Linked DNA regions of Homo sapiens: regions 1, 3, 4, 5, 6 and 7 are each linked to region 2. The links are contacts of gene promoters, found by promoter capture Hi-C in blood cells and fetal thymus (Javierre and others, 2016). All regions are on one chromosome and are shown on one strand. Each heading gives the region's core, a stretch centred on a gene start or on the middle of the fragment in contact. The rest is flanking DNA. Distances are from core to core; before and after follow the strand shown.

The links. Contacts are between HindIII fragments. The CHiCAGO score rates a contact against its expected background, and 5 or more counts as called.
Region 1: a contact is called between a fragment that was not itself captured here and the fragment with the promoter of HTR7 in region 2, in 8 of 17 cell types (naive B cells, M0 macrophages, total CD4 T cells and 5 more). The highest score is 8.5, in naive B cells.
Region 3: a fragment that was not itself captured here is called in contact with the fragment with the promoter of HTR7 in region 2 in 9 of 17 cell types (M0 macrophages, naive CD8 T cells, naive B cells and 6 more); the score reaches 9.7 in M0 macrophages.
Region 4: a contact is called between the fragment with the promoter of PANK1 here and the fragment with the promoter of HTR7 in region 2, in 4 of 17 cell types (M0 macrophages, M2 macrophages, erythroblasts and 1 more). The highest score is 7.2, in M0 macrophages.
Region 5: a fragment that was not itself captured here is called in contact with the fragment with the promoter of HTR7 in region 2 in 5 of 17 cell types (M2 macrophages, total B cells, M0 macrophages and 2 more); the score reaches 7.6 in M2 macrophages.
Region 6: a contact is called between the fragment with the promoter of KIF20B here and the fragment with the promoter of HTR7 in region 2, in 8 of 17 cell types (M1 macrophages, naive CD8 T cells, M2 macrophages and 5 more). The highest score is 7.5, in M1 macrophages.
Region 7: the fragment with the promoter of FGFBP3 here is called in contact with the fragment with the promoter of HTR7 in region 2 in 6 of 17 cell types (naive CD8 T cells, fetal thymus, neutrophils and 3 more); the score reaches 7.1 in naive CD8 T cells.

What each region holds. Positions count from the first base shown.
Region 1 is chr10:89,774,525-89,778,585 of GRCh38, reverse strand. KIF20B (kinesin family member 20B) reads right to left here. Exons shown (of 33, transcript NM_001284259.2): 33 at 3,652-4,061. Among named protein-coding and RNA genes, the nearest start is that of LINC00865, 53 kb to the left of the region's middle. The HindIII fragment of the contact is 3,153 bases long and covers 1-2,941 here.
Region 2 is chr10:90,855,883-90,859,576 of GRCh38, reverse strand. HTR7 (5-hydroxytryptamine receptor 7) reads left to right here and starts at 1,538. Exons shown (of 4, transcript NM_019859.4): 1 at 1,538-2,444. The coding sequence starts at 1,906. RefSeq lists silencers at 1,501-1,870, 1,891-1,940. The HindIII fragment of the contact is 8,867 bases long and covers 1-3,694 here.
Region 3 is chr10:89,824,280-89,828,412 of GRCh38, reverse strand. LOC105378424 (a long non-coding RNA gene) reads left to right here. Exons shown (of 3, transcript XR_946196.3): 2 at 3,091-3,230. Among named protein-coding and RNA genes, the nearest start is that of LINC00865, 3.1 kb to the left of the region's middle. The HindIII fragment of the contact is 1,591 bases long and covers 1,628-3,218 here.
Region 4 is chr10:89,642,922-89,646,584 of GRCh38, reverse strand. It overlaps PANK1 (pantothenate kinase 1), which reads left to right and starts at 1,343. Exons shown (of 7, transcript NM_148977.3): 1 at 1,343-1,985. The coding sequence starts at 1,694. It overlaps PANK1-AS1 (PANK1 antisense RNA 1), which reads right to left and starts at 2,471. Exons shown (of 5, transcript NR_184344.1): 1 at 2,386-2,471. RefSeq lists silencers at 1,340-1,819, 2,520-2,569. The HindIII fragment of the contact is 3,186 bases long and covers 1-2,230 here.
Region 5 is chr10:89,844,022-89,848,255 of GRCh38, reverse strand. No RefSeq gene overlaps it. Among named protein-coding and RNA genes, the nearest start is that of LINC01374, 7.8 kb to the left of the region's middle. The HindIII fragment of the contact is 2,160 bases long and covers 922-3,081 here.
Region 6 is chr10:89,699,437-89,703,181 of GRCh38, reverse strand. KIF20B (kinesin family member 20B) reads right to left here and starts at 1,592. Exons shown (of 33, transcript NM_001284259.2): 1 at 1,502-1,592. RefSeq lists enhancers at 914-1,430, 1,431-1,946 and a silencer at 1,991-2,070. The HindIII fragment of the contact is 4,302 bases long and covers 1-2,089 here.
Region 7 is chr10:91,907,325-91,911,462 of GRCh38, reverse strand. It overlaps FGFBP3 (fibroblast growth factor binding protein 3), which reads left to right and starts at 1,977. Exons shown (of 2, transcript NM_152429.5): 1 at 1,977-2,065; 2 at 2,416-4,138. The coding sequence starts at 2,494. The coding sequence ends at 3,270. It overlaps FGFBP3-AS1 (FGFBP3 antisense RNA 1), which reads right to left and starts at 3,334. Exons shown (of 2, transcript NR_199602.1): 1 at 3,214-3,334; 2 at 2,115-2,566. RefSeq lists an enhancer at 2,337-2,631 and a silencer at 2,535-3,104. The HindIII fragment of the contact is 14,773 bases long and covers 1-4,138 here.

The DNA of each region.
Region 1 (4,061 bases), core at 116-2,615, 1.1 Mb after region 2:
TACAGACTGACTGCATGAAAAAACAAGACCCATTGATATGTTACCTACAAGAAACACACTTCACCTACAAAGACACACACAGACTGAAAGAAAGAGAGGGAAAAATATATTCCATGCCAATGGAAATCAAAAGAGCAGGAGTCACTACAGTTATATCATACTAAATCAATTTCAACAAAATAACTATAAAAAAGAACAAAGTCATTATATAATGAAAAAGAGATCAACTAAGCAAGAGGATATAACAATGGTAAATATATATGAATCCAAACTGGCACATCAGATATATAAAGCAAGTATCATTAGAAGTAAAGAGCAAGATAGGCCCCAATACAATAATAGCTGGAGACTTCAACACCCCACTTGCAGCATTGGACAGATCTTCAAAGAAAATCAAAAAAGAAACATCAGACTTAATCTGTACTACAGACCACAAGGATCTAATATTAAACAGATATTTACAGAACATTTCATCCAAGAGCTGCAGAATACATATTTTTTTCTTCGGCACATGGAGCATTCTCAAAGACCACATTTTAGCTCACAATATAAGCCTTAACACATTCAAAAAAATTGAAACATCATCAAGCATCCTCTCTGACTACAATGGAATAAAACTAGAAATTAATAACAAATTTTGGAAACTGTAAAAATACATGGAAATTAATATGCTCCTGAATGACCAGTGGGTCAATAAAGAAATTAAGAAAGAAACTGAACAATTTCTTGAAACAAATGATAATAGGAACACAACATACCAAAACCTAAGGGATATAGAAAAAGCAGTTCTCACAGGGAATTTATAGTTATAAGTGCCTACATCAAAAAAAACAGGAAAAACTTCAAATAAACAATTTAACAATGCACCTTAAAGAACGAGAAAAGCAAGAGCAAACCACACCCAAAATTAGTAGAAAAGAAATAATAAAGATCAGAGCAGAAATAAACAAAATTGAAATTAAAAATACAAAAGATCAATGAAACAAAAAGTTGGTTTTTGAAAAGTTAAACAAAATTGACAAACCTTAAGCCAGACCAAGAAAAAAAAGAGAGAAGATTCAAATAAAATCAGAAATGAAAAAGGAGATAATACAACTGATACCACAGAAATTAGAGGCTACTATGAGCAACTACATGTCAGTAAATTGAAAAATCTAGAAGAAATGGACAAAATTCCTAGATACAAAAAACCTACCCAAGATTGAATCAGGAAGAAATCCAAAATCTGAACAGACCAATAAGTAACGAGATCAAAGTCGTAATAAAAAGCCTCCCAGTAAAGAAAACCCCGGGATCCAATGGATTCACAGCTGAATTCTACCAAACATTTAAAGAAGAACTAATGCCAATCCTACTCAAACTATTCCAAAATACAGAGGAGGAGGGAATACTTCCAAATGCATTCTACAAGGCCAGTATTACCCTGATACCAAGAATAGACAAAGACACAACAAAAAGAGAACTGCAGGCCAATGTCTCTGATGAATATTGATGCAAAATGACCTCAACAAAGTACTAGCAAACTGAATTCAACAATACATTAGAAAGATCATTCATCATGACCAAGTGGGATTCATTGCTGGGATGTAAGGATGGTTCAACATACACAAATCAATGAACATGCTATATCACATCAACAGAATGAAGAATAAAAACCATATGATCATTTCAATTCATGTTGAAAGGGCATTTCAACATCCCTTCATGATAAAAGCCCTCAAAAAAAATTCAACATCCCTTCATGATAAAAGCCCTCAAAAAGCTAGATATAGATGGAACATACTTCAACATAATAAAAGCCATATATGACAGACCAACAGCTAGTATCATACTGAATGGGGAAAAACTGAAAGCCTTTCCTCTAAGATTTGGAACAAAAGGATGCCCACTTTCACCACTGCTATTCAACATAGTACTGGAAGTCCTAGCTAGAACAATCCAAGAAGAAAAAGATACAAAGGGCATCCTTGAAAAGGAAGAAGTCAAATTATCCTTGTTTGCTGATGATATAATCTTATATTCGGAAAAACCTAGAGACCACAAGAAAATTATTAGAACTGATAAATTTAGTAAAGTTGCAGGATACAAAATCAATGTACAAAAATCAGTAGCATTTCTATATGCCAACAGCAAACAATTTGAAAAAGAAATTTAAAAAGTAATCTCATTTACAACAGCCACACATAAAATTAAATACCTAGAAATTAACCAAAGAAGTGAAAGATATCTATAATGAAAACTATAAAACACTGATGAAGGAAATTGAAGAGGACCCCAAAACATGAACAAATATTCCATGTTCATGGATTGGACAAATCAGTATTGTTAAAATGTCCATACTGCCCAAAGCAATCTACAGTTACAAGGCAATCCCTATCAAAATACCAATTACATTCTTCACAGAAATAGAAAAAATAATCCTACAATTTATATGGACCCACTAAAGACCCAGAACAGCCAAAACTATCCTAAGCTAAAAGGACAAACTTGGAGGAATCACATTACCTGACTTCAGATTATACCATAGAGCTATAGTAACCAAAACAGCCTGGTACTGACATAAAAGCAGACACATAGACCAATGGGACAGAATAACCCAGAAACAAATCCACACAACTACAGTGAACTCATTTTTCACAAAGGTGCCAAAAACTAACAATGGGGAAAAGACAGTCTCTTTAATAAATGGTGCTGAGAAAACTGAATATCCCCACGTAAAAGAATGAAACTAGACCCCTATCTCTTCACATATACAAAAAAACAAATCAAAATGGATTAAGATGTAGATCTAAGACCTCAGGCTATGAAACTACTATAAGAAATCATTGAGGAAAATCTCCAGAACATTGGCCTAGGCAAAGACTTCTACTAGAGCAATACCCCACAAGCACAGGCAACCAAAGCAAAAATGGACAAATGGGATCACCTCAAGTTTAAAGCTTTTGCACAGCAAAGAACACAAACAACAAAGTGAAGAAACAACTCACAGAATGAGAGAAAACATTTGCAAACTATCCTTCTAACAAGGGATTAATAACCAGAATATGTAAAGCGTTCAAACAGCTCTATAGGAAAACATCTAATAAACTGACTAAAAAAAAAACATGGGCAAAAGATTTAAATAGACATTTCTCAAAAGAAGACATAAAAATGGCAAATAGGCATGTGAAAAGGTGATCAACATCACAGATCATCAGAGGAACACAAATCAAAACTACAATGAGATATCATCTCACCCCAGTTAAAATGGCTTATATCCAAAAGATAGGCAATAACAAATGCTGATGAGGATATAGAGAAAAGGGAACACTTGTACACTGTTGGTAGGAATGTAAATTAGTACAAACACTATGAAAAACAGTTTGGAGCTTCCTCAAAAAACTACCATATGGTCCAGCAATCCCACTGCTGGGTATGTACCCAAAAGAAAGGAAATAGAAGAGATATCTGCACACCTATGTTTGTTACAGCACTGTTTACCATAGCTAAGATTTGGAAGCAAGTTAAGTGTCCATCAACAGATGACTAGATAAAAAAATGTGGGACATAAACATTCAGCTGTAAAAAAAGAATGAAATCCTGTCATTTGCAACAACATGGATGGAACTGGATATTACTATGTTAATAAGCCAGGCACAGAAAGACAAAGACTGCATGTTCTCATTTATTTATGGGATCTAAAAATAAAATCAATTGACCTCATGGGCATACAGAGTAGAAGAATGGTTACCAGTGGCTGGTAAGGGTACTGACGGTTGCAGGGGGAGGTGGGGATGGTTAATGGGTACAAAAACAAATAAGATAAAAAGAATGATCTACTATCTGATAGCACAATAGAGTGACTATAATCAATAATAACTTACTTGTATATTTTTAAATGATCTAAAGAATGTAATTGGATTATCTGTAATTCAAAGGAAAAATGCTTGAGGGGATGGATACCTCATTCTCCATGATACACGTATTTCACATTGCATGCCTGTGTCAAAACATCTCACATACCCCGTAAATATATACATGTACTATGTACCCACAAAATGTTTACAAAATAAGTGAGACAT
Region 2 (3,694 bases), core at 289-2,788:
ACATTGTTTATTTCTGAAAATTTCCATTTAATATTTTCGGACCGTGGTTCACCACAGATAACAAACCAAGAAAAGCGAAACAGAGAATAACTAACATAAGTAAGGTTGAAGAAATTTCCTCATCCATCTTAACTGTTAGATAATATTGCTTTGTGGCCTAGGTATTATATTCAACTCTTCCTCTGACTCAATGGATTGGTTTGCTTATCCTAGGCAGAGAGGAGCCTCTGAAATGTTGATCACAGCAAAAGAGCTGTGAACATTAGGGCTTTTTTTTTTTTCCATTAAAACTTTTTCTGAATGTGTACAGGGAAGAATATGGGCATAGTAATCAGATAAACTTGGGTTTGAAACATAACTATTCCTTACCAGCTGATTGCAAGAGCTAACAACCTTCCCTATCTGGAAAAACAGAGCTAATACCCACCTTGAAGAATGAAAGTACTATTCAGCACTCTGATCAATATACTTTGAGGTTTTTATTCCTTTTCTTCTTATTTATAATCCGCTAGGGCCTAACAAGAAAAAACAGATTTGATTATTTTTAGAGTCTTAAACTACAGAAATCACTGCTGGCTTCCAATGAAACCTTCAAACAAAATGGAATGAAGCAAGTCTCACAAATAATAAAAATCAGCCGCTCTGACAGGGTTTGGATACCAAGGGGAATTTTAGCCAATAGGTATTAAATCAACATACACCTCCAGGATTCCTTTATAGAAGAGTATAACCGGTCATTTCTTTGCTTATGTGTAAGACTTCCAGAATGCTACGGGAAAATTAACTCTCTTTTCAATATATTAGGCTTTGAAGTCTAAATATAAAGGCAATCAGGGTCTATTTTCAGAGCGGAGAGGACTGTTTCTAGACATCCAGGAAGGATTAGTCCAAATGGGTGTAACCCCCTTGGAGGCCTTGTCCCCAGAGCATCCTCATCTCCTGGGTGCCAGGGGCTTAAGGAATCCCCCTCCCTCCTTTTTTTCTTTCTTCCTCTTCTCGGAGCTCCCACCCTCACCCCATTCGGCTGCTTCTTTTCCATCTTCGCTTCTTCCCATAAGCGGTCAAAATAGAAAACGGAAGTACCTATTTGTTGCTTAGTGTAGTGCTCAGAGACGTTTTTTTGGTTGTTGTTTAATTAAGAAAAATAAAATCCCCCTCTAGGTTCTTCATTTCGCAATGAGCCCAAACATCCGCTGGCTCATTAGGCCTCTTAACAAAAGAAAAATGCCCCCACTGAACTGTGGCTGACTAGTGTGCGGAGGCTGGGGTCGGCTGGAGGGGTTCTAAGTATCTATCATGCGGCAAGGACAGCTTCCCGGGCGAGGGGACCCGGGATCCCGGGAGGCGCGTGCAGCGCCGCCCCCTCACAGTAGGGAGGCGCGGGAGAGGCGGCGGTGCCTGCCCAGCCCGGGTATCCCGTCCCAGGAGCGCGAGGGAGCGGGCAGCGGCCGGAGGCGGCGGCGGCGGGGACGCGGCGCGGCTGCCGCAGGGGAGCGGCGGCGGCGGCGGCGGCGGCGGCGGGCGCGAGGGGCGGGGCGCACTCCGCAACTTCTGCCGCTGCCGCCCGGGCGCTCTCGGCGCAGCCGAGCTGCTGCTGCGAACTGTGGAGCTGCCAGCGGAGCCCAGCCCGAGCTCCCTCGACTCCGCGCGTCCCAGGCGTCCGTCGGGGGCCGAAGCGCCTCCCGCAGGGAGTCCCCGTGAGGCCGCGCTGCCGCGTTACCCGCAGCGGCCGGGGGTCCGGGGAGTGCGGGGCTCCGAGACAGAGCCAGGCGCCCCCCAGCGGTCGGCGCGGGCCCCATGGCTGGGCCGGGCGGAGCGGAACCGGTGAGGTGAAGCCCCGGGGCCGGCAGCCGGAGGCGCGTGGCCGGGGCGCCGGCTCCATGGGCAGCGGCACACGGCGGCGCGATGATGGACGTTAACAGCAGCGGCCGCCCGGACCTCTACGGGCACCTCCGCTCTTTCCTTCTGCCAGAAGTGGGGCGCGGGCTGCCCGACTTGAGCCCCGACGGTGGCGCCGACCCGGTCGCGGGCTCCTGGGCGCCGCACCTGCTGAGCGAGGTGACAGCCAGCCCGGCGCCCACCTGGGACGCGCCCCCGGACAATGCCTCCGGCTGTGGGGAACAGATCAACTACGGCAGAGTCGAGAAAGTTGTGATCGGCTCCATCCTGACGCTCATCACGCTGCTGACGATCGCGGGCAACTGCCTGGTGGTGATCTCCGTGTGCTTCGTCAAGAAGCTCCGCCAGCCCTCCAACTACCTGATCGTGTCCCTGGCGCTGGCCGACCTCTCGGTGGCTGTGGCGGTCATGCCCTTCGTCAGCGTCACCGACCTCATCGGGGGCAAGTGGATCTTTGGACACTTTTTCTGTAATGTCTTCATCGCCATGGACGTCATGTGCTGCACGGCCTCGATCATGACCCTGTGCGTGATCAGCATTGACAGGTAAGGGCCGGACCGCCCCGTCCCAGGCTCCGGCTGGGGACCGGCTGGCAGCTCAGCCCCGCGCGCTCGCCTTTCCTGGGAGGATCAAGCTAGACTTCAAGGCGGGATGAAGGGCTGCGCTTAAAACACCGCTCCCCCCAATCCACCCTACACCAACCAAACTTCGGTTACGGCATAGCCTATGTACATCTTTAAAAGAAAAACCGGAAATGTTCTGGTTTACTGTAGTGACGAATTTAAGACCAAAGTTAAGAGTATTTTAAGCCTTAGCATTTCCACCAGCGGGTCCCTTGCCTTGGTTTTTGGAAGGAAGGGATTTGGTGCTCCCTGACTTGATCAAGCCTTGCTGTGAGCCTTAAAGAGTCATTAAAAAATAATAATAATAAGTCGGAGAAAAGCCACCTTGCTTACCCCATTGTGGGAGCTACTCCCTAGGCCAGTAAAAGGACCTTGGATGGTTCTAGAATTGGGGTTTGTATGTCTTACACATTGCATCTTTATGATGGTCAGTTCGGAATCGCATTCTTGCTTGTGGAAGTCTGGTTTCAATGTTTGGTAATGCTGTCTGTATCTTGCGAGCTTGCTGACTGGAGCCTTCCTCCAGGTCTGAATGGCTGGTTCTAGCCTTTCATCATAGCCCTTGGGAACCTTCTCTTGAGAACTCCCCCACTGGAGTAATTGAAACAGAGGCTGACCATCTGTCAGGGATGCTAGGGGAAAAATTCCTGCCTTGGGTGTCATATTGAACTAGGAGACCCACAGGGTTTCTTCAGGCTGTAAGGTTACAGGCTTTTGAAATGGAGCTAGTCTTTGACCCTTGAAATATTATGCAGTTGACAACTTGAAGTATGGTCTCAATCCTCTTTGGCCTAAAACAACTCTATTTCACTTGAAACTGAAATATGAGACCTTAATATTCACACTCAGAATTTTGCCGGTGTTTCAAGACTAGTATCCTGTTGTGTTTAATGATACAGAGAAATGGTTGCTTATTTTCTTAGTGGATCTATAGAACCTTTATATGTGTAGATCTTTCAGCCTAGGGGAAATAATTGATGCCTCCACACTTAAAATGACAGTGCCTCAAAGGATGGTCTAGCATGAAACTGAGATTTTCCTTTTTTTCTTCTTGAAAACACTGCTGTTTGTGGTTTGCTGGTACTTAAAATGTTCTGCTGTATGTATTTTTTGCTTGACCAGGGTTTATAATTACTAAATAAAGGAAATAATAGAAAAGGGAATATTTTCAA
Region 3 (4,133 bases), core at 1,174-3,673, 1.0 Mb after region 2:
CATGCAATTATATGGAAAGATCCCCAATATATATCAAGTAAAGGATTTTAGGTATATAATGGTATAATTAAACCCTACCATTTTTGTAAAAATAAAATATGTGTGTATACACACATATCAGGTATGCACACCCACATTCCTATATGGGCATAAAACATCTCTAGAATGGAACAACAACAAAAAATTGATAAATTGCTCCCTCTATAATTTTGAGGAAGCTCCCAACAGCTAATTAATTTTTGTTCTTTGCCCTAAACCTGCCCCTTTTTTCATTTTTTTCATTTCCAAAAAGGTACTACCATTGATTGTCTCAGAAAAGTAGAAATGAGATTTGTTCCTTCTCTTGTCCTCACCCAACCCCCATTAAATCAGTTATCAAATCCTGCTAACTTTATTTCCAAAACAAGTCTCAACTTTATCTACTTGTATTACAGATGTTGGCTATTTATCAACGTTTTCTGTTCCTTTCAACCTTAGTCATAGACGTCCTGATTTTCAACTAGACCTGTAGTAACCTAGAGTAAACATTTTATTGTCTATCTTCCATTGTAATCACATGGGGCCATGCTACTGAGTGCTTTCCAATGAGCTGTAACTGCAAGCATCACGTATAATTTCTAGAAATTCTCTTACAGGAAAGGGATGTATCTTTTTTCCTCCCTTCATCATTCACGTTGTCTGGGATGAAAACAACATGACTGGAATTAAAGCAGCCACCGTCAATGAGGAGGTTGAAGTCACGTATTGACAAAATGGAAGGAATCTGGTCCCTAAGAATGGTGGAGCCACCAATTGAATTCTAGGCTATGTACAGATTTCAGTTATGCGAGAGAGGAATAAATATCTGTCCAAGCCACTGTAATTTGGAGTTTCAGTTACAGCTACTCCAAATCCCAAATGATAAAATGTCTCTGTATTTCAATGGCCAACCACCTGACCAAAGCCCAGTCCATTTCACCTGAACTGCTGCAACAGCTTCCTAACTGTTCTATCCACATCCCACCTTGACCTCTTCCTCTGCTGAATTCTCCACACCTCAATAAGAACATGCTTGTAATATATATATGTATATATACGTATATATACATATATATGTATATATACATATATATGTGTGTATATATATATATATATATATATATGATCGAATCCTCCCTTTTTTTTACAATCCTTTAAGAAATTCCCATTAGTTTTAGAGTAAGTTTAAATTCTCAACATAGCCTATTCAATCTTACATTGTCTGGCTCCTAAAACTTCAGCTCATCCCTCGCTGCTTCCCCCCCTCACTCACTGGGCTCCAATCACATGGAAGTTTCAGATATCCTGTGCCCTCTACTGTTAGATTCACCTTAAATCTTCTGTCTCCAGTCCCTACTGCCTACTAAGTCTACTAATCAAATCTTTCGGGTCTCTGGTAAAATGCAACTTCCTCAGGAATTATAGTCAGGAATCATGACTATACTTTCTCATGACATCTTGGATTATGCCTTATAGTCCTTATTTCCTGCATGGTTAGCATGGTTATTTGTGCAATTATTCCTTTAATGTAGAGGTTTCAAATGGTATGTAGGACTAATCTGCTTACAGATGCATTCCATGGTCCACACAGTATTTCTTTTGAAAAGCTTTAATCAGTGCATTCTCTTTTTGGTTTGTCACACTTCCCATCAATTCACACCATTTCACAAATTTAGGTCCCTTTCCTGCCTCCTGCAGGCCTTTGCACATTTGGCCTGCCTCTCCTACTAAACTAGAGTCTCCATGAGGGTAAGGATGGTGCCTGTCTTCCTCATCACTCTATGCCCACTATCTGACATCCTTAAGACCTATCAAGGTGCTCTGGAAATCCTTGCCTAAGGAATAAAGCCAATGAATGAGCTGTTTTCATTGCCATTATTAGCAGCCTTTTTCTTCCTTTGGTTTTATTTTTAATACCAGATACCATAAGTAGATAAGTGTGGTGGAAGTATCCATTTGGTAACTATTTCACATGAAATTTTGAACAAATTTAGCACAAGACTCTGAACCTTAAGGCAAACTTTCACTTTTTATCCACTGGACTAAATAGAAAGTAAATTCATATAGTTACACTTTTGAATTTTGAGAAGTTTACAAAAATATTTCATCCAGGCCATTCTATTTCTATTCCCTAGGAGTTAGGCACCTCACTGACAGTGCCCCCAATTCTCCAAAGGCTTTTTAGCTCAAGGTTTAAAAAATGAAATGTAACTTTTAAAAAAGCAATCTGTCCTCCCTGATGGCAACTCCAAAAAATAAACCCAGATCACACTGCTTAAACGTTTTATGACAGCAAACATTGTGCTTAATACAAAACAGGAATTTTCAATTTGTCAATAATAAGAAAATGAAGATGCAAAACAAAATGTCTCTGTATTTTCCAGATATTTTATTTTTATGTTTCATATTTTCTTATTCTTCAAAGGGACAGAAGTTTGAGGTTTTGTATTTATTTTCTAAAGCTGTGGCCTTCTATATTTTGACAGAAAGTATTAGGGCTGAGTTACTTCTAAAAATTCCAGGTTCTCCACTCTTATAACACATTTACATTGACTTGAAAATTTTTCATTGCACCTACACACACATTTTTTGTAGGTTTTCCTCACTTGGTGAAGACTGCAATGTTGTTAATACCTCTGAAGCATTTTAGAGTTACCCAAACTCTAGATGAAAATTCTACAATAAGGAAATTCAGCAGGATGCTAAATAAGCAATATTGCTCTTTCTCTATAATTGTTGTCAAAATGTTAAAAGCTAAGCCTTCCAGCCAAAACAAAAAGAAATGATAATTTTCTGGATTGGATCAATGGTCCATTCAGGCCAATAGCATCTTCAACAATTCATTTGGGAGGTGATTTGCCCCTAACTATAATGTTAACAAGAACAGTGTTTCTCCAAGCATTTCAGAGTCTCTTAATCATGGTTCTTTTATTTGTGAATATATAAAAACATTTTTAAACTCATAATATTTCCCTTGACTTACTGTCCACCAGAGGAAGTGGTATTTTCTCTTACTTGGCTTAAGCATTCTTAAGCTGCAAAGGTAACTAACTACTCTCTCTTGTGTTCCAGGATTCAGTGAAACGGTCTCTATTGATAGCCAGATCAGACTGTGAATGAATGACCTTTTAAAACAGCCAGGTGTTTATCTCCCAGTGCATCCTTCCCTCTCTTCAGGATAAATCTTGGACAGTTAAGCTTATCCTCATGAGGTATCCTTCCCATGATATTTTTCCTGAAAAATTCCACTTGGCCTTTGAGAAGTGACTCACAACCATCTAAGGAAAAAGATACTCCAAAACAGGGCTCCAACTGGGTGGGCCTAGGCCATCTCAATGTCTCCAGTCCAGATCAACAAGGAACAGAAATACTGAGGGGTGGAAGAAATGACGAAGAAGCAGGGAGGAGGTTGGTAAGCAGTAGGCAGGTGAGGGGATCCACATCCACTGGATTGATAAGAAAGTTTGATTCCACAGCAAATACACCAGTCTAGAGTGTTCACAAAAACCCTTCAGACATTTTAGTTATGGGCACTGTCAAAGTTTGTTACAATCTTGCTTCAAGGACAAAGGCCTCCAGTAAGCCAATCAGAAATATTAATACATTCTTCATAAGAACATTTGATAGGAAAATACAAAAAGAAGAGAATGTTTGTTAAAAGCCACTAGATTGTTGAATGTCATTCAGTGGGGTAGATAGGTGACTGGTTTCCTAGAACAAGACTTTGGTCCATTAATGTTTTCCAGAATATTACTTAAGCATTTTGTCAGGAATGTTAATTTCTTCTCAGAATGAGGTTGCAAATTACATCATGTAAAAAGATTCCTTCCCACACCAGGTTTGGGGCAACTTCTCTTTTATAGTAGTCAGTTTCAAGGCAGTGACCAGAATTCATATGACAGTCAAGAATTGGAAACAATATAGCAGAGTGTGAGTTTTGCAGTCAAACGGACCTGAGTGGTGAACCTTAGTATTAGCTGATTCATGTGTAAAATGAGGGTAAAATAATAACTACCTTGTTAGGGAGGAGATACTAATAAATACTATTTCATTCTTGTTATTTATTTTCTCTGAATTTTTACAATTGATCACTTTTATATTAATCATTTTTATTC
Region 4 (3,663 bases), core at 94-2,593, 1.2 Mb after region 2:
CACCTTTGCTCTTAATAACCTCAGCCATCTGTCTGCAGCTCAGTTTCCTGATACGAAAAAAGTATGCAAGAGTGGATAGACCAGAGTGCTCCAGTGGCCCCCATGGTTCTCAAGCTCTGATTCTAGGTAAGGCTCTGCTGGAAGGAATTGCCAGATGCAAGCCCTAGATGCTGCTGAATGCACTGAAGCCCAGGGGCCCAGCAACCCAGTAGCCAGCCAGCACCTGCCAGACTCTGACTCCTCTGTAGATTAATTGCAAATCACGGAGAATATCACAAAATAAATCACACAATAAATACGGCTGTAAGCATGGTTTGTTCCCCTGTCGAAACAAAGGGTGAACTGCTAATCATAATAGCGTAATAAGGAAAACTAGCTTTCTGAGCATTTACTGTGTGCCAGGATTGTACCAGGTACTTTTAGTAGATTTTCTCACAACAGCCCCATTATGGATAGGAAAGTGAGGCCTCAAGAGATTGCATAACTTTGGGAAGGTATTCACCACCCAAATTAGTCCTGCATAGTGAGCATGGACAGTCCCGTTTCCTATTGCTAGAAGTGTTACCTTGAGCATTAACGTTATCTGGGTTTGCTCAGTGGCTGAGTTGGAATTTGAACCCAGTGCTAACTCCAAAGCTCGTAGTGCTGGTCACCACGTGATGCCGCCTTCCCTTCTTAGAAGAGGCAACTCCTTACTCTATAAATAACATGACATTGTCTTTTGAAGTCCTTTCTGGGTGAGGAAAGTGCTTTTTATAGCATGGAATTGCTCCTGTTTACTTGATCTCTTTCAGCACCGATTAATCCTGCCTACAGTTTTGTCCTTCACTGTCCTTACACTGTATTCCTAGGTTTCCTCCCTGCAAAAGACAACTCCATGAGACCACATGGTGTTTGAGTGTGTGTGCGTGCCAGCAAAGAAATTTCACTCCCCTCCCTCCCCAAGTCTGCCAACTTTTCTATAAATAATTGTTCTCCCTCCCCTCAGGCCTCTAAGTAGTTTGGTCACTTAACCAAACGCACAGGCACACACGCGCGCGCGCGTAAGCACACACTCACAAAGCGGGGAGGGTAACGTGAATGACCTTGCAAAGGTATCTTGCTCACTGGGGACAGGATTAGCAAACCTGACACCTCTGCAAATAATTGTCTTCCTCCCGTATTCCTCCTGAAACGGTTCGCTCCTTTCGCTGTCTCTCCCAGACCCATCTGGTTTTCACATCGCCATACAAAGCCCAACCCGCCCATCTCCTCTCTGCAAGCCCAGAGAACTTGATTCCCCATGTTGAAACTCGTCGGTGGCGGTGGCGGGCAGGACTGGGCATGCTCAGTGGCGGGGACCAGTCTGGGAGGCGAGGAAGCCGCGTTTGAAGTCGCGCGGCCTGGGGATCAGGGGAAGGCGGGCGGCGGGAGCCCCGGCTGGGGGTGCGCGGGGATCCCCGATTCCGCGCCCGGGGCTGGCGTGCTCCAGGCCGGCGCCGTGGGGCCGGCGCGCGGGGGGCAGGGCGCAGAGGAGGTGGGGGAGTCGGCAGGAGGAGGGGAGGAGCGCCGGGTTCGCCATCCCCAGGCGCCGGCTCTGCGGCTGCTGAATCGGAAGCCGCAGGGAGGATCCGGGGAAATAAAGACGCCGGAGAATGACCTCCAGCGAGGCCGCCTGAGCCGGGGCCCGCGCACAGCCCCGCCAGCCCCCGGCATGGGCGACCGCAGCGGGCAGCAGGAGCGCTCGGTCCCGCACTCTCCAGGGGCCCCCGTGGGCACCAGCGCCGCCGCTGTGAACGGGCTGCTGCACAACGGCTTCCATCCGCCGCCAGTCCAGCCGCCGCACGTCTGCAGCCGGGGTCCAGTGGGCGGCAGCGACGCGGCGCCCCAGCGCCTCCCGCTCCTGCCGGAGCTGCAGCCGCAGCCACTGCTCCCTCAGCATGACTCCCCGGCCAAGAAATGCCGGCTGCGGAGGAGGATGGACTCGGGGAGAAAGAACAGGCCGCGTAAGTCCCGCTGGGAGGGGAGCGCGGGCGCAAGGCAGACGCAGCGTGCGGGGCCCGGGACTGGGAGCGGCTGAGGCAGGCGCCGCAGCACGCCCCGTGCGCCCCCGCGTCTGCGGTCGAGGGACTGCACAGAGTAGGTTCCCGGGACTGATTCTTTTCCTAGGGGACATCAAGCACTACAGGTCTTTGCCTGAGCCTGCCCTTTGCTCGCTTCTATCAGTAGAACGAGGATTGGACACGAAGCTTGAGCGGGTCCCTAGGTCAAGGATATATAATAAGCGAACGCTCTGTCCGCCCTTCTAATTGGTGGCTGGGAAAACGCAGGTGTGTGAACATTTGCTGGGGTCCAGGAGTGAGGATAAAGTGGGCGGCACACCGAGGGTGCTCTCTCCTTTCTCACCCCTCTCGCTTCTCTGAGCGCGTCCTACTGGGGTTGCCTGCCCTTTGAATCACAGAGTAGCCAGCAGCGTCTCGGGTCTATTGGAGAGCGCAAGTCTGGAGGCGTGGAGTTTAACTACCCCCCAAAATCACAGCCTATTAGAAGCTGTTTCTTCACGGCCAATGAGAGGGTTTTTTGGGAGGGACACACCCACTGATACCATGTGGGCCGGAACTATGTGGACCAATGAGGATTGGAGGTGGATTTTTTTTTTCAACGAAGGGGGAGGTTGAGTTGAGGGTTTGTAATTGTAATGTACACCGGAGAAAGCCGAAGTGCATTATTTCACAATCTAAAGCTTGTATATATAATGGTAGTTTGTAAAGTGTACCTTCCCCACAGGACGCTGTGGGATGTAAATTTGTAGGTCGAGTTTACAGCTGGTTTTTCTTGACTGAAGCTCATTCAACTGGTTACTTCTTTGTGGGTGTCTTTAATGAAGCTTATAAATGGCAAAAAGCAAAGTAAGTACAGTAAATGCTAATAAATGACTGCATTTGCATAGAGGTTATGCTGTTCGATATAGGGAAATTGTTAAGTAGGTTTTGGATTTCTGTGAAAGTTTAATGTTTGGCAAATAACACCTTCACTTTTCCCTGTTTCTATGTCTTTTTGACTCTTAGCTTTTCTGTATTGGATTAAGGTTTCTAAGACCTTGGAAAGCCCTTTGACATGACTGTGGGTGACTCTGGTACTTGTATTTTGTGGGTTTGAAATGTTAAATTTGTAGGTTAAGATTTTGTGTGGAACTTTAAAGCCAAACAGCAGATTTGGCTACAGTTGTAAGGTGTAAGGTTGTAATCTAGCACCTGAATTTTTATTTGCTTTTGTTTTTGATACTTGTTAGAAAATGACTTTCATTAGTATTAATATTTTAAAAGTCAGGACTTAATATTGATTACCTGTGATTTATAAACCTGTTTCACTTATTTTGAAGCTATACTTCAGTTATTTCTCTTATCTACATTGACAGATTGTACTAGAGTTTGCAATGAAAATAGCTAAAATATAATGAAAGGGAGCTTCTAGCTTAATCTTCTATGTTTAATTGAGGATATAACACCTCTTGAAATAACTTCTGAGGAATTGAAAATACACCCTCTAGGAATATCTTGAAGACAGAGAAAAACTAACCTGAGCCTTAACTTGTGCTTGCAAACCCACAGAAATTATTTTAAAATACAAGAAAATGTAACTATCTGCCTGTGTGCTTTGTATCAGAAATTAAAGTGGTTTATG
Region 5 (4,234 bases), core at 752-3,251, 1.0 Mb after region 2:
TCCTCCCACCTTAACTTCCTAAGCAGCTGGGACTATAGGCATGTGCCACCATGCTTCTCTAATTTTTTTTTTTTTTTTGAAGAGATAGAGTCTCACTGTGTTGCCCAGGCTGGTCTCAAACTCCTGGGCTCAAGTGATCCTCATGCCTCAACCTCCCAAAGTGCTGGGATTAAAGGCATGAGCTACCACACCCAGCCCTGAAATTTTCTGATATATAATTAATACCCAAAAGAAGTGACAAGGAAGATAATTCTATCTAGTTTCACTAGTATTTATTTTTAAAATGCCTACTTTGCCTCATATCCTGATGTTGGGTCTAAATTAAGACACTCAACAAATATGGGAGCTTAGTTCGATGATGATGGTCGTGATTAACTGATTAACAACATCAGTTAATATTCATTAAGCACTATCATGGGCCAGGCGCCGTGTTTAATGTGTGGCCATCATCAAAAACATTTTGTTTGGCCAGGTATGGTGGCTTTTGCTTATAAACTCAACTACTAAGGAGGCTGAGGCAGAAGAATTGCTTGAGGCCAGGAGTTCAAGACCAGACTGGACAACATAGCAAGACCTCATCTCCACATCCAAAAAAATAAGAAGAAGAGTAACAAGACCTAGTGGTAGGCCTAACTATAATTTCAAAGTAACAAGAAGCATAAATATTTAGAGAAACTTGCAGGAACTGTGATGTAATGTGAATACATTTGAGATTTCTATTACTGACAAATAATGGGTGCTGCTCAAACTATGGGGTCTGTTGCTACATTAATAACTGAAGGAAATGCTAAATTTCAGCCTGAAGTTAATGAAAATAAAGATGCAATTTTTATTCCCATTCAAGTTCACAGACTGCCTGAATTTTCTCCACAGATCCCTTGTCCATAGTCTCTTTGATCTGAATATAAACTGAGCCAAGCTTCCCTTTTAGTGTTAGATGTTTTTTTAATAACCTGTTCTTTAGAAATGTCAAGAGTATTGGAGAATCACTGGCAGTCAGATCATTTTCTTGTCACCTTAAAATCAAGGTCAATGTGTAAGAGGCAGCTACTGGACAGGTCCTTCTCACTGTCAGTCCTGCACACTGGAGTGGTGGCCATCCACTCATATGTGCTCAGCTATCTATCTTATCCCCAGTGTGTCCTGGGAGACACTAGTCCAGTGACATATCCCGCTTTGTGGTCAAGTGAACTCAGGAAATGCTACATCAACTCTTTGCCTCTTAGAAATTTACAATGCAAACTAGCATAGTAAAGGCTTTGAGAGGTACTACAAAGCAGTTAACCCAAACATGGCCTGACCACAGAACCACCTTCTTTCTTTTTTCCACTGTGTAACTGCTAGTTTCATTGAACAGAGAATTCACCTTGGGAAACATTTGTTTGAGTAGTGTTAAAAGTACCACAAAACAACTCCCCAACTGACTGAAATAAACCAGCTCCAAATTAAACCCATAGGCTTTTCCCAGAACAAATCCAGAACAAGCTCTAGATGGAAAAGGGAAACTATGCACCAGGGTAGTTTGTGTTATGCTCAGCAATGTATGTGCTCAGTTTAACAAAAGCCATGCTTCTTCCTATTTGCCATGAAGGAGTTCTATGGCCAAGTTCTACCTGCTGAGTAAATACCCTTCTCATAATCACCACCAAACCATAGCAATCACAGTGGGTCAATATGACTTCAGTGATCTGATTTATTAATTAGTACTCTTGTTTTAAGTAACAGAGCCCACTGTAGTGATCCTAAGCATAAAGGCAATTCATCAGAAGGTGAAAGGTCATCTCACAAACCAGATAGAATGCAACCAAGTCACTTTAGGAGAGTAATGAACCCAGGGATTGCACAACTAGTAGGGCTTGGCTCTCAGCCTTCCTCCCTCCTTCTCCCTTCTCCTTTTCCCCTTCCTCCTCCCTCCTTCCTTTTGCCTCCTTTTCACCCCCCTCTTGTCACTCTCTCTCTCTCCCTTCTTTGCTTGTCTTCACTTTTCATTCTCTAATTCTAGCATGCTTTTCCTCTAATACAAGTGCATATACTCTCCCCCACCTTCACTGAATTGCTTCTTCAGTGAATTCCATAGTGTTGACTGGCTTTCTTTGATTTTGCATATGGCAAAAAAAAAAAAAAACCCATGGCTACCATGAGCTCCTGAGTTACCAGTAAAACCACAAATGAGACTGAATTCTGTCTGGTTCAGCTTGGGTCAGGTGGCTTCCCTGGCTTGCCAGGAGCCATGTCTATGATATAGTGAAGATCAGGGTCCACAAACAGGGAAGAGAGGATGAAATACAGACAACCTGCATTGATGACATCTGGAAAACTACTTAAACAGAGCAAAGACTTGCTTAGTTGATCACACACACGTTATTAATTCCATTACTGTTAATAACTTAAATTCTTGCTTCAGGCTGGAATATAATAAGAAGTATATGTGGCAAAATGTGCTCATTCCCCCTTCTCAACTAAACACCTGGACAAAGGCATCTTAGAAACAAAATCATCAGGATAAAAGAAAGAATTACTCAGATGCAATGGTTAATAATTAATAATCATTCCACCCACACACGAGGATTCCACCTTTATTGTTAATGAGCTAAGGACTCAAGGGTTACATATTTTCTGTGTGTATTTTTTAAATTTCTTTTCAAGCATTCAATAATTATTCTCAAATTATCCTTCAATATGAGCAAGAGGCTACAGAAAAGATGGTTATTCTCTCATAAGCATTCACAACATGATCCCAATACACGCCAGACTCGCCTCTGCCATTTTCTCACACCCACCTGTGTTCCAGCCACACAGAATGTCTTGCTCTTCCCAAGCTATGGAATATTGTTTATCTGAAATTCAAATTGAACTGAGTGTTCTCTATTTTTATTTACTAAATCTGGAAACCTACCCAGATCACACTTTGCCCTCAAAGCTCCCGGAGTTTGTCACGCTACGCCTTTCACTTAGGATGCCGTCCACCAGTCCCCTCCCCCGGATAAATTCAGTCTCCAAAAAAGGGAGGCTTAGAGTTTAGTGGAATGAAGTGGAAAATAGAGTATAGCACACATAGGTTAATCCTTGTCTTGTCAAGCTTAAGTTTCTGTGTGTGTGTGCGTGTGTGTGTGTGCATGTGCTGATTCAGTGTAAAATGTATTTTTTATTGTTAAGTTATGGTTAAAGTAGAATGAAAGCCTCTGAGCAACCTCTGAGCAAACCTCTGAGCAACCTCAGGATCAGCTGTAATTCTCAGTTATTATTTCTTGTGATCTCCTAGCATTCCTTTCAAACATTTTCAATGGCTCCTCATTTCATACATAGGCTTTCCATAATCTGGCCCCAACCTCTTACCCATCTCATCTCACAGCTAACTCCATTACACAAACCATCCACCTCAGATAAATGGCCTGCTTCCTTCCCTGAATCTATGACACACACTCTGTTTCATAAATTGTGTTTGCCTTCTCCCACAGTCACTCCACCACCCCTGCCAAACCCGGCCTCTCTCCTCTTTCCTCTCTCCTCTCTCCTCTCCTAAGGCTCACACTTACTTAAAGCTCAAGTTATGTTTGTGTAACCTTAAACAAGGCACTTCCCATCTGAGCACAGGGTCTTTGTTGACAGAATCAGGGAATTGGGGGAGAGATCTGGCAAGATGGCCAAATAGGAACAGCCCAAGTCTGCACCTCCCAGTGAGACCAACGCAGAAGGTGGATGATTTCTGCATTCCTAACTGAGGTACCCTGTTCATCTCATTACAGTGATCAGTGGTTTTTATTCCAGGGATGCAAGGATGGTTCAACATATGTAAATCATATGTAAATCAATAAATGTGTTTCACCATATAAAGAAAATTAAGAACAAAAAACATATCTCAATAAATGCAGAAAAAGCATCTGATAAAAATCCAACATCCCTTCATGATATAACTAGACATTGAAGGAACATACCTCCAAATAATAAAAGCCACACATTACAAACCCATGGCCAACATCATACTGAAAGGAGAAAAGCCAAAAGCATTTCCCCTATGACCTGAAACTGAACAAGCCTGTCTACTCTCACCTCTCCTATTCAACATAGTACTGGAAGACCTAGCCAGAACAATCAGGCAAGAGAAAGAAATAAAAGGCATCCAAACTGAAAAAAAAATAAAAGTCAGATTATCTCTTTTCACTGATGACATGATCCTATACCTAGAAAACCCTAAAGATTCCTTAAAAATACTCCTAGACATAATAAATGACTT
Region 6 (3,745 bases), core at 343-2,842, 1.2 Mb after region 2:
TCATAACACAGAGTTCATGGAAATGCCCAGAAAACTAAAAAACACCTGTGGCTTCAAATAATAATTTTTGGTTTAAAGAAAAGTGTTGATAAATCTTTTAAATTGCTGAATTAAAAAGAATATTCCTATGTACTAAAAGCAGTTATAATAAAGTATTTGTTCATATGCTCATTTTTCAATGAACAAACTACTTCCTAGCATTTCTAAAAGTGTTCAGACTTACTGTAACTTCTTGCGATTTTAGATGACTTCTACTTATACGTGGCCTTCCCAACTAAACTGGAAACTTCTTGATGGCAAGAACCTTGCCTTATACCACTCTGTATCCCCTATAACAAATTCAGCGACTTATGCAGGGATAAAGACTACCTAATGACTTAAAATAATGGTTATAAAGAAAATACTATTCCAAAAAAAAAAAAAAAAGTCGGTCCTAGTCTGTAATATTATCTTTCGTGACAGCAGGCTCCAAGACCTCATTTTTCATTTCAAAAGGCTGCTCTGACTGGAAAACTGCATATTTACCCTCTCTCCAATAAGAATCCACAATTGGAGACTTTGGTGAAAAATAGCAGAATCTGTTGCTGAATGAGGTTTCTGAATGTGGTCTACAACACAAAGCCTCAAAAAAAGTCTTCACAACTAATCGATGAGTATTTTATGTTATTTTTACAATTTAAAATCTGGAGTCTTGGACATGTAAGATAAATACACTGTTACACTACCTAACCCATAAGGCGTGAACTTCTGTAAACTAGTAGTTTAGCAAGAAATATAAGAGAACTGTGCCAGACATGCATCACTGAACCAGCGAGCGAATCGAGATGGAGAAAGCCTTCTAAACTGGGGAATGACAGCAGTCACTGTGCCACAAACTCTTCAGCCTGGCACTGCAAAACCCTAGAAGGGCAAGCCCCAAGGACCAGTAGGAGTAGTCTGGAAATAAGTGCACAGAGGCTACCACAGGGCTCCCCCCGCAAAAAGGCCGTGTTACCTACCAGCCGAGCAAACTGCTCACCTCAGAGCTTCAGAAAACTAGGTGTGGCAAAACAGGCCTGTTCCTCAACAACAACAGAAGCAACAACAATAATAATATTAATAACTGCAAACATTTAGTACCTACTGTGTGCCAGCACTAATAACTTTACACATTACCATTTAATCTTCACAAAAGCCGAAAGAAATAGACACTTCATTGCAGCCTTTTAACTGATAAGAAAACTAAGGTACAGAGAGAGATTAAATGAATTGTCTTGCGTCACTCAGCTAATTAGCAGTGGAGGCGAGATTTAAACCGTAACCGAATTAGTATGACTCATTCCTCGCTGCGTACCCCGTGTTCGCATCGCTCCGCAACCCAGTTCCTGACAGTAACCTCCACTGGGGTATGAGCCCTGTCGGAACATGTCCACATTGCCAAAGCCGTTTCCCCACCTTAGGCCCCATACATGCGCAGTCACCCACCTCCTTCCCCACACATTCCCGCGGGTCACCTCCTCACCTGCAAACTTCGCCTGACTAGCCAGACCCGCGAGCAGCACTGCGATGTTACCGTTTTCAAATTCAAACAATGGCGGCCAGGGCACCGCACTGAACGCTGGGAGTAGGTGGGGCGTCCAGAGCTCCGCCAGGGAGCGTAGCCGGCTCGCGCTGCGGGCTTTCCAGTGGCTACCGGAAGAAGCTCTCCAATATGGGGGCGGGTCTTGAAACGCGGGCAGCCAATGGGCGGAAGCAGGCGTGGGCCGCCCTGGTGCTGACGGTCTGGTTTGCCTCCCAGCTCTGCTAGCCGGGCTTTAGTAGTGCGCTTTCTCGCGGCTGTCATAAGTACCACGCTGTTGACTGGGACACCGATCTCCAATTCTGTCCTTGAGGCAATAAAGATGTGGCGAAGGCCCGAGGTGAGGCCACTGCCACTGCACTTAGTCCTGCGACTCCCCTAAGGACGGGCCGAGGAATGGCGGGCTAGCCACTTCCCAGTCCTGTCCCTACGGGGCAGAAAAAGGCTCGGCATCCCGGGATCCGGAGGGTCACTTCCCTCGCTGCATCCCCATTGTGCAACTGCCAGTCTAAAAATTGATATAGGTAAGCTTATGAATGCTAAAACTAATGAATGCAAGATGCTAAAACAAACAATTAACTGAAAGGTTGTAGGGAAGAGGATGTTAGTATCTCAAAGAATCACCCTACAGATCATTTCTTATTATAAAGGGAAAATAGAATTTTACACTGAAGAGATTTATTAGACATACCTTAACCAAGTGAAGATACTTAGCATCGCTAATATCACCCGATAGTATTTGTGCTAGAAATGTTTGACATTAATCATGAGGAAACAATCAGAAAAAAACAATGTAGAATATTCTACAAGACAACAGGCCTAGGCTCTTCAAAAATGTCAGTGTCATGACAGGAAAAAGAAAAAAACGAAGTGGAAAATTACTTTAGTCGAGAGTCAAAAGAAACCAAATGAAATTTGTGAATCTTGGCTGGTTCATAGTTTTTAAAAAAAAAAAAAAACTTCGAAAGACATTTGTGGACAACTGGGGAAATTTAAATATGAACTACATATTAGATGATATTGAATCAGTTTTAAATTGATTGCATGTGAGAATTAATTTGTGATTAAGTGGAAGAATGCCTTTGTTTTTGGAAGGCGCTTGCTAAAGTAATTAGCAGCAAAGTGTCACAGTGTTTGCGGCTTACCTTCAAAAGATATGGCAAAAAAATAGAGAAAGCAAATGTGGCAAAATATTAGTAATTGGTGAATCTAGTTGAAGGGTATAATGGTGTACATCGTACCAGTCTTGCAACTTTCTAAAATAACAGATTTTATAAAATAAAAAGAGGAGGGGGGAAAAGGAATAGAATTCTGATCTTTACCATGGCCTCCCAGGTCCTGCACAATCAAGTGTCAGCCGACCTCACTCCCCACTAACTGTACAGTAAGTTGATCTGCTCTGGATACCTCAAACACCAACTTCTTTCCAGCATGTATGAACCTTTGCATGGGTTGTTCCCTGTACCTAAATTCTCTCTTCTCCATTCAACACGTGGCACTTCCCTTCATCATTTAGGTTACGTCTAAAATAGTACCTTCTTAAAGAAGACTTTCCTGGCTACTGTATCTCAAGTGAGCACTCTTTTTTTATTTGCAGGTTCAATTTCATTTTTATACTTTTTACAACTAGCAATTGTTGTTGTTCCCCCACCCTGTAAAATCTAAGTTCTGTGAGTAGAATAACTGTGTTTTGTTTGGTCGCTAATGTATCCTCAATGACTCTCTAACACAAGACAAGCAAATCAATATTTGTTGAACAATGAATGAAAGCTGATGTGGCTGGGTAGAGACCATGGGGAGGAGTCAGGGGAGTGAATCTGTAGGCATGGGCCAAGGCCAGACCCTGTAAGCCTTAGCCAAGTTACTGACTTGAGTATTACGAAATGCTTACTGGATAACCAGTTTTAAGCATGGGCATGGTGCAATCCAATGTGCATCTATCTTTTGAAAAGGTTAATCTCCTGGAGAAACTAGAGGCAGCCAGGGAGGATGCTGTTGAACCAGTTAGGAGGCTGTTGCAAGAGATCCCAGGAAAAGATAATGATAATGTGGACTTGGAAGATGGCAGAGGAGTTGCAGAAAAGTATCCAGATTTTAAAGGTACTTTTTCCGACGTTTTTCATTTCAGCACCAGCTGCTGGGTTTTTCCCTTAGGGAGATGCAGAGCCAGCTTGATTGGGAAGTGCT
Region 7 (4,138 bases), core at 728-3,227, 1.1 Mb before region 2:
ATTTCAATGTCTTTCTTATTTGACTAAGTGGAAAGAGAGTCTTTAAAATGTATAACCTGCCATTATGTAATTTGGTTTCATTTTATTCTACCTGTTGTGTGAGTTTAGTATATTTAATTTACTTTGTGTTACTCTACATACTGTTTATTTTTGTTACAGTTTTTAATTGAAGATGGACTCTGAAAGTGGTATAGGACCAGTGTCTTATTAATATCATTAATATATTAAGAGGAGCCACACAAAACCCATGACAAAATGAATGGAAATATTCTTTCTAAAAATTTAGAAAATTTTATACTTTTGCATTTATTATGTAAAATTATTTGTTTTACAATATCAAAATTTTTCGTTTAAAGAAAAAAATGCCATGAAACATTTGAACTGATGAGCCACAGAACTTCAGTTGAAATTTTTTTCACTTTTTAGCATGCTAAATATACATCTCAGTTTAAATATTCTGTTTAATGGCCATTTATAAATTCAAGCACTACCACTGGTCAGTTTTGTGTGATAGAATAAAAATATGTTACCTGCAGTGTAAGTATAGCACACTGTCAAATTCTTTTCCTTAAGGTGCACAGTAAATGTACAGATAGTTATAGGCCACTGTTTTTGCAATGTAGTACATTTCTAATCTATTATTCCTAACCTATTATAACTGTTTGCAGAGAGAAAATAATTGAATTTTTCTAATAATCTGTAAAATTATGCTAACTTCTACAAGTAGGCTTCTAAATAAAAATTTTAAAAAGAGCAAAAAAAAAAAAAAAGAAAGAAAAAACAGCTTTGCTTGGTCAGCACTTTGAGAGGCTGAGGCAGGTGGCTCATCTCAGGTCAGGAGTTCGATACCAGACTGGGCAACATGGTGAAACCCCTTCTCCACTAAAAATTAGCTGGGTGTTGTGGCAGGCACCTGTAATTCCAGCTACTGGGGAGGCTGAGGCAGGTGAATCGCTTGAACCGGGAAGGCAGAGGTTGCAGTGAGCCGAGATAGCACCACTGCGCTCCAGCCTGGGTGACAGAGTGAGCTCCCGTCTCAAAACAAACAAACAAACAAACAAACAAACAAACCCCCGCACACACACACAATCCCCCCCTCCAGAAAAAGCAGCTTTGCTTAAATGTAACATTTTCAAGATTCAAGAACACATTCATTCTCTCTCTCTTTTTTTTTTTTTTTGAGAGGCAGTCTCGCCCTGTCCCGGGTTCAAGTGATTCTCCTGCCTCAGCCTCCTGAGTAGCTGGGATTACAGGCATCTGCCACCACGCCTGGCTAATTTTTGTATTTTTAGTAGAGACGGGATTTCACCAGGCCAGGCTGGTCTCACATTCTTAACTATTATACCATTTCAATTGGTAATCTTACCGTTCAACTACTATAATACAAATAATTTTTTTAAACTTCTAATTTTTGGAGGACCCTTATAACTGATTTCTAATACCTAAAAATAATAAAAAGCCCAAATGTCCACTCCTGGGTGAACTGCTGGGCACTATTGTATGTTAATAAACTAGGATATTATATTTTTATTAGTAGTAACAATTATTAAGATTGAGAGTCTTAAGAAAGGCTATTGGAAATAATAGGTAAAAATGTAGAACTCAGAATATGAGAAATAGAATGTAAATGATATAATTGTGTAAAAAATGCCTAGTTTAGAATACTGAAGTTTGTTTTGTTTCATTTTATTTAACTTTTAAAACTTAGATCTTTTGTTTAATTTTTATTTTTTGGATGGTTAAGTACATGAAAGAAGAAAAACTTGGTTAATTTTGCCTGATTATTTTAAACATTGGAAGCAAAATACAAGATTTGTATTTCATACTACAGGACCGCTTCCATCATCCATCTGGAGAGACAGAGAGAGAGAGGGAGAGAGAGAGAGAAGCGCGGCGGTGATAAGTCTCCCAGTGTGAGAGAAATCGGGGAGGGGCGAAGAAGGGTAGGCCTCTTCTGTTCCATTGATACCACGTTCATTCACAGGGAGCCGGCTAAAACAGACTACTCCCCCGTGCAGTCGTTCCCTCTACCCTAATAAGGCTTTGGCGCCTCTCCCAGAACTCGGTAAGTTCAAAGTGTAGTAAAGTGCATGTTTCCAAGGAATCATCTGAAATGATTTTGTAGATAGTTTATTGCAGGTTGGAGAAGGGAGAAAATGAAGGAAGGGGTAGAGGGGGCAATTATCACGCATCGTTTTGCTATCGTATTTGCAAGGGGAAGAAAATCTCAATGCATACATGGTTCGAAAGTGATTATTTAGACAGTAAGCAGTTTCCCCAGGAAAGCTCCTCAGAGGGTCTCCTCGCAGGCTGCAGATTCTAGAAAGTCTGCGGAAGAGTAGTTCGCAGGTGCATGTGTCTGGGCGAAGCGCTGCGTGTGGCTCAGTTGGTGGCAGTCTCTGCCTCTGTCCGCAGGTCCTGGGGAATGCTCTTTGCCTGGTCCAGCCCCGACAAACGTGGTCTGAGAACAGCGGAGCGCGGAAACCGCGGAGCATGACTCCTCCGAAGCTGCGAGCGTCGCTGTCGCCGTCGCTGCTGCTGCTGCTGAGTGGTTGCCTCCTCGCGGCTGCTCGGAGGGAGAAAGGGGCGGCTAGCAACGTGGCGGAGCCGGTCCCCGGGCCCACTGGCGGCTCCTCGGGTCGCTTCCTCAGCCCCGAGCAGCACGCGTGCAGCTGGCAGCTCCTGCTGCCCGCCCCGGAGGCCGCAGCGGGCAGCGAGCTGGCGCTGCGCTGCCAGAGCCCGGACGGGGCGCGCCACCAGTGCGCCTACCGCGGGCATCCGGAGCGCTGCGCAGCCTACGCCGCTCGCCGCGCGCACTTCTGGAAGCAGGTGCTGGGAGGGCTGCGCAAGAAGCGGAGGCCCTGTCACGACCCCGCGCCGCTCCAGGCCCGCTTGTGCGCGGGCAAGAAGGGCCACGGCGCCGAGCTGCGGCTAGTGCCCCGCGCGTCCCCGCCCGCACGCCCCACCGTCGCGGGATTCGCGGGGGAGTCCAAGCCCCGGGCCCGGAACCGGGGGCGGACCCGGGAGCGTGCGTCCGGCCCAGCCGCTGGGACCCCGCCTCCCCAAAGCGCACCGCCCAAAGAAAACCCCTCAGAGAGGAAGACCAACGAGGGCAAGAGGAAGGCGGCCTTGGTCCCCAACGAGGAGCGACCCATGGGGACCGGGCCCGACCCCGACGGGCTGGACGGGAACGCGGAGCTCACGGAGACCTACTGCGCTGAGAAGTGGCACTCCCTCTGCAACTTCTTTGTCAATTTCTGGAACGGCTGAGACTGCCTGCCGGCTTAGGGAGGGTTGATGGGGGAGGCGTGGGGAAGGGAAAGCTAAGGGCGTCTTAGACCGGGGGGTACTGTGATAGAGATTGGGGAGAAGTCCAGGTTCTCGAATGGGGGTGGGGGCAAGGGTAAGGGTGAGATGCTTGGGATGAGAGTGTAAGGGGTATGGAGAATCTCTGGGATAGCAGAGAAGTTAAAAATTTTGAAAAGTCTCAGTCCTGATTAAGAGCAGGAAAAATAATGGAAACAGAAATAGGCGTACTTTAAATGTGCAAAAACTGGAGACTGGGGAGAGAAATCGATGCAGAGGGAGGCTGAGAATAAGGGGGAGATAGAGTGACTAAAGTGATGTGAGTCCCATGTGGGGAGGGGGATGCAATGTTTATTGTTTAACATTTCTATTAAATGCAGCCATGAGCAATTGCCAACCTGAGCCAGGTTGAATCAATGTCTTCTCACTTAATCAGCTAACAAGACTGCAGACTTTTTTTCCGTTTCTGAATTGGTATAAACTTGGATGCGGCGTGGTGGGTGTCATAGATAACCTCTATAGGGACAGAAGCCTCACAGGTCAAAACTGGCTCCAAGGAAAGTTTTGCAGAATGATTTCCTTTCCATTCTTTTAGAAGAGCTACCTTTTTTTTTTTTTTTCCCTGACAGGGTCTGGCTTGCCCAGGCTGGAGTGCGGTGGCTAGTCACAGGTGTAATAATAGGCACTGCAGTCTCCAACTCCTGGCCTCAAGGGATCCTCACATCTTAGCCTCCAGAATAGCTAGGAGTAGGAGTAGCTGGGACTACAAGCATGCACAGCTGCACTTGGCTTAGAAGTGCTACTTTATTTTTATTTTTGAGACAGGGTCTTG